2 separate regions of the Homo sapiens genome follow, and region 2 is linked to region 1. Evidence: promoter capture Hi-C in human tissues and cell types (Jung and others, 2019). All regions are on one chromosome and are shown on one strand. The core of a region is centred on a gene start or on the middle of the fragment in contact, and the rest is flanking DNA. Distances in the headings are between cores, read along the strand shown.

Region 1 (4,854 bases), core at 734-3,233:
GGTGCCAGTTTATAAAGAAATTATTAAACTTCAAAGTGTCATTTTCATATCAGGAACCATCTACCAGGATTAGAGTTCTCAAACTGAGGTTTGTGGGTTCCAAGGATGGGTTTCAAGGCTGTGTTAGCTCCCTGGATTTGAGTGCAAAGTGTTGTATGTAGATGTGTATGTGCATTTTTCTTGGGAAAAATTTTACCTTCCATCAGATTCACAAAGGAGTCAGAACCCAATTAATGGTTTTGAATTACTGTTATCTTCCTTGGGTGTTGATCAGCTAAAAGCGAACACATTGAAGATAAAACTCCTATAATCTTCCCCTCTAAACCACCTTATCTCTTGACTTTCTTAGAAGCAGAGCACATTGATGTTGGAAGCAATACCCAATGAAGGTGTCCCTCTAAATGTGCCTGGTAAATTGTTAGCCATGCTGTCCTCAGGAACTCAAAGCAGCGCCATCAATCACATGAATGTTAGAAACGTCCAGCTAGGTGCCATGGCTCATGCCTGTAATCCCAGCACTTTGGGAGGCCAAGGTGGGTGGATCACTTGAGGTCACGAGTTCGAGACCAGCCTGGCCAACATGGTGAAACCCCGTCTCCACCAAAAATACAAAAAAAAAAAAAAAAAAAAAAAAAGACTAGAAACTTCCACCTATGTCAGGCTGAAACAGTAGTTTCACACATAGGATCTTGTTCAGACCCTGGGACTTAAGAGAACATGTCGAATCCCTTTTCCGCTGGTCACTTTTCAGGTACATGAAGATGTAATCCCATCCCCGCATCAAGCTTTATTTCTCCAGAGGAGGATCTTTAATTCTTGTAAACATGGGACAGGTACAGGACATGTTATGATAATGACAGGTACAGGACATGTTATGATAATGACAGGTACAGGACATGTTATGATAATGACAGGTACAGGACATGTTATGATAATGACAGGTACAGGACATGTTATGATAATGACAGGTACAGGACATGTTATGATAATGACAGCTCTTCTTTAAATTTTTATTTTTTATTTATTTTATTTCCATAGGTTATTGGGGAACATGGCAGCTTTTTTTGAATACCCTCCTCTTTGCCAGTTGCCCAAGGTGGAACACCCAAACTTTGACATGATACTTCCATTAATGCAACTTAGTATCACAAGTTGATGTCGTGGCCCAGCACAGGATGGCCTGGAAACCGGCAACACTGGACGCTGGGGAAAGGGTAAGAAGGTCTTGACCATTACAAATGGTGTGGAACTGAGCCGAGGGAGGGATAGTGAGAAGGGAGAGAGGGTGAGGTGTCTGAGAGACAATGAGGTCAAATCAGAGGATTCAGCCATTGTTGGCGTGTGGGAAAGGGAAGGAGAAGGGAAGAGTCAGGGATGACATTTGTTGAGAGAGAGAGAGAGAAGAGAGAGAGACGCAGGTGGAAAGAGGATGGCACCACATTGGACTAGCCCCAACGGAATGGGGAGAAGTGGGAGAGGACCCAGGGGATGCAGAGCTGATGAGAGTGGGAGAACCAAGACAGAGGAAGAAGGTTGGGGCAAATCAAGTGTCTCAGGGAGGCCCAGTGAGGCAAGAACGGAAAGGAGAAAGGCGGCGGTTAAGAATCAGGGATAATGGCAGAGCGTTGCAGCTCTGCGGGTGGGACTGGGCGGAAGGGTTTGGGAGAGACAAAGAAATGATCTTTGAAGGCCTCGCAGTGCTTGGCCGAGTGCCTGGCACAGAATAGGTGCGCAATAAATGACGGGTGAGAAGTGAAGGAACTCAGGAACAGTGATTAGTGAGTGAGTGACGGAAGGAACGGAGGATGGCGTTGGCTCGGGAACCTCGCTGCCATGTCGGTGGAGGCTCCTGGGCTGCAACGCCAGAGAGAGGCGGGGCGTCCCCGACGGCCAATAGGAGCTTCGGTATCAGCTCCGCCCCCGCCCCCTAGCTCCGCCCGGTGCCGCACGTCGTTCGCCTGCCGCCTGAGGCGCGCGCAGCCACCCAGCTCCCGGAAGTGCGCCCGGAGCCGGCGCCGCGGGCCGAGGTGAGCGCGCTTGCGGGGCGGTCCCGGCCTCCGGCCGCTCGGGGTCAGGCCTTGCGCTATCTGCGTCCGCACCTGACTCAGCTGGGCACCCCGGAGCTACGGAGGGGCCAGCGGGCTCCCTTGCCCATGCGTCTGGGAGCGCGCGGGGGACGTGGCGAGTGCGGGGCCGGGGCAGCCATGGCTGGGAGTGGACCGTGGGTGCGGGGGGATGTGTGAACCCCGTCCCGGCTCTGCATTCCTGCGCCTCTGCGCCCCGCGGGACCGGCCGGGTCTCTGCACTGGGACCGAAAACGGGCTCCTCCCCGCTGTCTTCCCCTAAGGGCTGAAAATGAGTCTCTGGAAGAGGAAACCCGATGGGATGATGCCTGGAGTCTCTCCCTCTCTCATCAGAGTGCAGTCGGCATTTGGGGGGCGCATGGTGGAGAATACATATCCAATGAGCAGCGCTGCCCTGGCCTCGAGCACTAAATGCCAGTTCCCCTAGCTGCTTGTGACAACCAGAAAACGCCCCAACAAATCACCAGACGTTGGCAGTTCTCCCCAAAGCAAAGGCTTTAGAGCTTCCTGGGTTAATCTGGCTGCCACTTGTGAGCCTCGGAGGTTCCTGATCTGTACACCAGGGTAATTGTGGGAATTGGAAATACATGAACCGAGCTTAATAATGAGCCGATACGTAGTAGGTGCTTAACAAATGGTTACTTATATATGTAACCATGTATGTAACCACTTGTGTATATTACACCTAGAATGCACTTTTAAAAATTCATTCTATTTGTTAAAGGTTTAATAACAGGTATAACAGACAACCTTATTTTTTTTTCATAACTAATGGGGGCAGTTCCTCATGAGGTTATCGGAATATAAACTCTATTAAATTTTTAATACTATATAAAGTAATTTAATTTTGAATAATCGAGACATTTTTCTTACACACTACCTGGGAGTATAATATTACTAACAAAAGATTTAAGTATTTTATAAAATCTGTAGTTTTTCCAAAATGTCATTTCTCTTAAATATTATCTAAACTGCTATCTTAATTTAGGAAACAGATAAATTGCAGTAAGTTTACAGGTCGGTATCTTGCTATCTAAAATCTTGCCGCTTGTTATTTGAAACTCTTGAGCCAAATAGGTTGGATTTACAAAGCAAGGTATTTTTAAAAATATATTTATTCGTTTTTTAAGATGTTATTTGAAACTGTAGGTTTACCTCTGAGCTAAAGCTGCTTTTCAGGTGGTTTGATAATGCTGTCATTGTCACTCAGTATGAAAACATATTTTAATTTCCTTTGTGATTTTTTTCTTTGACTATGGGTTAAGAGCATTATTTAGTAATTTCCATAAATTGGGATTTTCTAGTTATTGTTATTGATTTCTACTTTAATTGCACTATGATCAGAGAATATATTTGAACCCAGGAAGCTCTAAAGTTTTCCATTTGACCTTTCTGGTTTTGTTTCTCTTGTGTTCCTTTTCTATCAGATATTGGGTTTTTGAGTGTTTTTTGGTATTGCTTTAATGGCTTTTTAGCAATACCACTTTGCGTAATATTTTTAGAGCTAATTTTAAGATATCAGTCATTTGAAAATTATGCATATGGTCTGTTTTGATGAATACTCTTTGCACTTGTAATGAATGTATACTCTGCAGTTCTTGGGTCTAGTGTTCTGAAAATGTCAATTAGAGCAAGTCGGTTGATAGTGTTCAGATTTTTTGACTTCACTGACTCTTTTTTTTTTTTTTTTTGAGATGGAGTCTCCCTCTGTCGCCCAGGCTGGAGTGCAGTGGTACGATCTTGACTCACTGCAACTTCCGCCTCCCAGGTTCAGGCTGTTCTCCTACCTCAGCCTCCTGAGTTGCTGGGATTACAGGTGCGCACCACCATGCCCAGCTAATTTTTGTATTTTTAGTAGAGATGGGGTTTTACTGCGTTGGCCAGGCTGGTCTCAAACTCTTGACCACAGGTGGTCCTCCCGCCTAGGGCTTCCAAAGTGCTGGGATTGCAGGCGTGACCCACCGCGCCTGGCCTGGGTTTCTTTTTTTTTTTCTTGCAGTGGTGTGATCTCGGCTCACTGCAACCTCTGCCCCCTTGGGTTCAAGCAATTCTCCTGCCTCACTCAGCCTCCCTGGTAGCTGGGATTACAGGCATTCACCACCACGCCCGGTTAATTTTTGTATTTTTAGTAGAGATGGGGTTTTGCCATGTTGGACAGGCTGGTCTTGAACTCCTGACCTCAAATGATCCCCCTGCCTTGGACGCCCAGAATGCTAGGATTACAGGCGTGAGCCACTGCGCTCAGACCTGGGTTTCTTTTTAAGCAAAAAATAAATTTAATGAGGACCACATAAAAAACATTTGGTATTGGATTACGGTTGCAAGGGTCCATTTATACAAGGATTTTCATCTGCCTCTGTGACTCCTGCGACTGCAAGACCAACCCTTCCTTCTCCTTCTCCTGTTCCTTGTCCTCTTCAGGCTACTCAGTGTGAAGATGATGAAGGTGACCACCTTTATGGTGATTCACTTCCACTTAGTGAATAGTAAATGTAGTTTCTCTTCCTTATAATTTTCTTTTTCTTTTTTTTTTGAGACGGAGTCTCGCTCTGTCGCCCAGGTTGGAGTGCAGTGGCACGATCTCAGCTCACTGCAAGCTCTGCCTCCCAGGTTCATGCCATTCTCCTGCCTCAGCCTCCCGAGTAGCTGGGATCACAGGCGCCCGCCACCACGCCTGGCTAATTTTTTGTATTTTTAGTAGAGAAGGGGTTTCACCGTGTTAGCCAGGATGGTCTCGATCTCCTGACCTTGTGATCCAGCCACCTCAGCC
Region 2 (4,854 bases), core at 835-3,334, 680 kb before region 1:
ATGTTAAAATAACTCAAGACACTAGAGGAATAGGGAAGAAAAACCTCAAGTGGAAATGCCTTACGATGTCACTAAGAGGGCAGAATCCACAATTCACATGCTCACCGGGAGGATGGGGTGGCAAAGTCAGATGGCTCAAGCCAGCTCTGACTGGTTCGGATACTTGTGCGAAGCAGTACAGGGTAGCAGTCACAAGCATGGACTTAGAATCCAAAGGTGCATGAGATCAAGTCCCAGCTTTTCCATTTACAAGGCATGGGATTTTGAGATAGCTCCTTCAGCGCTGGAGGCTTGGTTTCTTCTTCTATGGATGGGAGGACTGTAACAACAGTACCTCCTTACAGGATTGCTGTAAGGATTAAATTAGTTAGCACACGCAGCAGGCATGTGAGCATCAGATAGTTCTTGGGGTGCTCTATTGGGGTGTAGGGAACCTCATCAAAACCCTCTCCAAGTCAGGGAGGACTGGGAAGCAGCTGACAACACTGTCACTACAAGTGTTCAACTAGCACGGCTGTTCAGCCGCGGGGAACTTTTCCTTCCATCACAAACAGGTCCCTGAAGTACAGAACAGAAACTCGGCAACTGACATAAACAATTTCAAACAATAATTTCAGAAGACAAATTGCTCCATTTGGGCACCAAGATTCCTCTCTGAGGCTTTCCCCACTTGTTTATGTATTCTGTGGCACAGAGCCATGAGTGAATTAAGCAGACAGCGCGCACACACGCCCGGGGCCGGTGGGAGGGGCCTCCGGGAAAAGGACCTGCCATTTGACCTGCGTTCCTTGAAAGCTATTGCTGCAGAGATGCCTGAGACAAAGGGACTCAGATTTACGCCTTCTTGTGTTCGCTTGTTCATCGAGAGAGGCCACAAGATTGGGTGCCAGGAGATCTGAGTTCAAGTGCTTCACCATGCTGTATGTGTAAATTCGGGCAGGTCATTCCCGTTTCTATACCTTAGTTTCCCATCCCTGTAAGACAGACGTCATTATACTCACCTCTAGGGTAATTATAGTGGTCAAATTAAGAGCCCTTTATCCCTAATAAATTACCATACGAAGATTAATGAGGTTAACCGTGGGCATCCACTAAGTAGCTGAATAAAAATTAGATATAAAGGAGAATTAGAGTTTGGAAGAAAGGGTGTATTTTATGAGGCAAAGAAGTTCTTCTAAAATTAAGAGGAGAGTCTTCATTCCATGGGGCTGTGGTTCTTGAATACAGGTTTACGTTCTTTTGAGAGCCTAAGTGAAGCTTGTGATATATACTATTCTATTATAGCATTTAAAGCATGTATTGCCTTTTCTGACTATAAAACAAGTGCGTGTTCATTATAGAAAATTTGAAAAATGTATAAAAGTTTCAGGATGAAAGGCAAAATTAATAGGAATTCAAGTCTGCAGAGATAAGCAGCACCTGCTAATACTTTGCCTTTTTTCTTCTGATTCATATACCTGAACATGGATATAAAAAGGTACCTACCCTACAATTTCTCAAGAATTGGGACTATATCATATGCAATTCTGAAACCTCCTTCTTGCATTGTAAACATCTTTGCATCTCATGATCCTCTGAAAACACGATATTTAAAGTGCATGTTAAATCCCATTTTTTATGTATTTAAATATTTTCTTTTTGTTAACCAACTCCAGTTTTTCCCTCGGTGTTACTGTAGCACATATACCACTGCAAAGAGCATCCTCAAAGATAATCTTTACCTCTCTCATACTATATATATGTTATATATCATATACAAACATATGCATATACATATATATAAATGTAGGTATATTAACCATTCTTTAAATGTTAGAAAATAATCCTGGCTCTACTGTTAGACACAAGGTTTTGAAACAACCAAACATGATGCTTGAGAATACTTTCTGTCTCTGGGACATTCTGTAGTGTCATGCTCTAATCTATGTGTTAAGAACACAATCCTTTGTGAAGGCTGCATTTCTACTAAGCCAGGGATTCCTTTGCTATCCCTATGCCTCATTCTGTCCTCCTCTCCCAGCCAATCCTGAGTTACATTTGCTGAATTTCCATCTCCCCTTCTCATCTAATTCTTTCAATCTTGAAGCCAGTGCAGATGGCTACCATGTTAAAATAAAAAATTAAATTAAAAAAAAAGCTTTAAGCAGACGGACTGTTAGGTTGAGAGAGGAAATAGGTTAAATGCCAGGCATCTGCCTATCTGAAAAGACCATGTTCCCTTGGGCTGCGCATTTCTCTGGGGGACCATGTGGTAAATTTGGTTTTGCAAGCCCCGAGACGAGAGTTCTAGGTCTGAATCTGCTGGGTGACCTTGAGCCAATTTCTTAATGTTTCTGGAAACTCAGTAACCTCATCTGTACAATCAAACTTGTAATCTCACAGAATTGGTAGAAAAATATCACGAGGTCAGGAGATTGAGACCATCCCGGCTAACACACTGAAACCCCATCTCTACTAAAAAAATACAAAAAATTAGCCAGGTGTGGTGGCAGGTGCCTACAGTCCCAGCTACTTCAGAGGCTGAGGCAGGAGAATGCCATGAACTCGGAAGGTGGAGCTTGCAGTGAGCCGAGATCGCGCCACTGCACTCCAGCCTGGGTGACAGAGTGAGACTCCATCTCAAATAATAATAATAAATAATAATAAGAAGAAAACAAAAAAATAAAAATATTAATGAATATGATCTTTTTTGGTGGGGGAGAGAGTTGAATACATCAAAGAAATAAGAGGTGCTATAATTTGGCAGACTGCCTCCAGCTGTCTATCCTCAAAACTTTGTTTTCTCTCTCTCTCTCTCTTTGGTTTTATATTTAGACAGAACAGCATTCTCAATTATAAGAGAAGAGGATCTGGGCTCAGCCATGAGCCTTTGCTGGTCCTCATAGCATGTAATGATCTTGCTGAGACCCAGACAAGGCTTGGCACTGTCTTCAGAGGCATCAAAAGACCAGATCCAGAATAAAAACCACACCTCACCGGAGAATAAGTTTAATTATTATGCCTTTTCAGTTTTTTTTTTTTGAAAGGAAAAGAATAAGTGATGATAGATATATAAAACACTTTGCAAAATACAATATAAGTTATATAATGACAATAATTATCTTCATAACTCTCAAGCACAATCTGGGGTAAAAAGAAATGATAGGCTGGGCGCGGTGGCTCACACCTGTAATCCCAGCACTTTGGGAGGCTGAGGCGGGCAAATCACGAGGTCAGGAGATCGAGACCATCCAGGCCAACATGGTGAAACCCCATCTCTACTAAAAATACAAAAATTAGCTGGGCGTGGTGGTGCACGCCTGCAGTCCCAGCTACTCGAGAGGCTGAGGCAGGAGAATCGCTAGAACCTGGGAGGCGGAGGTTGCAGTGAGCCAAGATGTTGCCACTGCACTCCAGCCTGGGGACAGAGTGAGACTCCACCTCAAAAAAAAAAAAAAACAAAAAAGAAAGAGAAATGATAATAGCTGGGCAGTGAATCTTAAGAGAAATTCATGAGAGGCTGGTCATTGTGAATTTAGAATCAATATGATATCTTATAATAACATAAATAATTGTAAATTAACATATCAAAGCATATTGATATAAACATTGATATGAGAATTAATATACACTTTTTTTTTTTTGAGACAGAGTCTCACTCTGTCGCCCAGGCTGGAGTACAGTGGCGTGATCTCGGCTCACTGCAAGCTCAGCCTCCTGGGTTCACACCATTCTCCTGCCTCAGCTTCCCTAGTAGCTGGGACTACAGGTGCCCGCCACCATGCCCGGCTAATTTTTTGTATTTTTAGTAGAGATGGGGTTTCACTGTGTTAGCCAGGTTGGTCTCGATCTCCTGACCTCGTGATCCGCCCATCTTGGCCTCCCAAAGTGCTGGGATTACAGGCGTGAGCCACTGTGCCCGGCCTATAAGTTTTTTTTTAATTTTTAAGTTTAGGGGCACATGTGCAGGATGTGCAGGTTTGTTACCCAGGTAAACGCGTGTCATGGGGGTTTGTTGTACAGATTATTTCATCACTCAGGTATTAAGCCTAATACCCATTAGTTATTTTTCCTGATCCACTCCCTCCTCCCATCCTCCACCCTCCGACAGGCCCCAGTATGTGTTGCTCCCCTCTATGGGTCCATGTGTTCTCATCACTGAGCTCCCACTTGTAAGTGAGAACATGTGGTATCTGGTTTTCTGTTCTTGCATTAGTTTGCTAAAGATAATGGCCTCCAGCTCCAACCATGTCCCTGCAAAGGACATGATCTCGTTCTTTTTTATGGCTGCATAGTGTGAATTAAAGTATAATTAATATTCATGTGTGAATAAGATAGCTACCATTTATTGAGTACATCAGCACATCCCTGCACTATGTCAAGCACTTTTTATATGCTTTTCCACTAAAACCTCAAAAATTTCCAATGAAGGAGGCATTCTTGTTTCCACATTTACACATAGAAAAGTAGAGGGTTGAGAGCTTAAAAGCATGCACTCGAGTTCATATCATACAATCAATAAGGATGGAGGCCAGGATTTGAAGCCAAGTCAGCCAGATGGCATACCTATACCACATATACATTGAGATTTTCCAACAAAAATTAATAGCAGAGTTGTGGGTTTTCAGTCTCTTAGCTAAGAAGCAAGTTTCATTGGTTGTATTTTGAGTTGTGAGCATGACCCAGGATTAATGAGAATTTGAGAACAACTTAAACCTCCCATGGCCTCAGCCAACTCCTGATTTAGCTGCTATGCAAATATGGTATTGTTAACCCACTCCCCATCACTCCATATCTTAAAAAAAAAGGCAAATAATACTCAGTATAGGAGATACTGGATAATTGTAATCAAGAATATAAGAAAGAACATAAGAA

Evidence for each region. The method cuts DNA at HindIII sites, captures the fragments that hold promoters and counts their contacts. A contact is called where the count stands out against the background at its distance.
Region 2: a fragment that was not itself captured here is called in contact with the fragment with the promoter of ZNF18 in region 1 in 1 of the 25 tissues and cell types used here (aorta).

What each region holds. Positions count from the first base shown.
Region 1 is chr17:11,994,604-11,999,457 of GRCh38, reverse strand. It overlaps ZNF18 (zinc finger protein 18), which reads left to right and starts at 1,983. Exons shown (of 7, transcript NM_001303281.2): 1 at 1,983-2,027. RefSeq lists enhancers at 1,415-1,494, 1,565-1,804, 919-1,902 and a silencer at 1,835-2,284. The HindIII fragment of the contact is 7,782 bases long and covers 1-4,854 here.
Region 2 is chr17:12,676,481-12,681,334 of GRCh38, reverse strand. The region is part of intron 1 of MYOCD (myocardin); the gene reads right to left. All of the region lies in intron 2 of MYOCD-AS1 (MYOCD antisense RNA 1), which reads left to right. Among named protein-coding and RNA genes, the nearest start is that of MYOCD, 13 kb to the right of the region's middle. The HindIII fragment of the contact is 4,406 bases long and covers 1-4,287 here.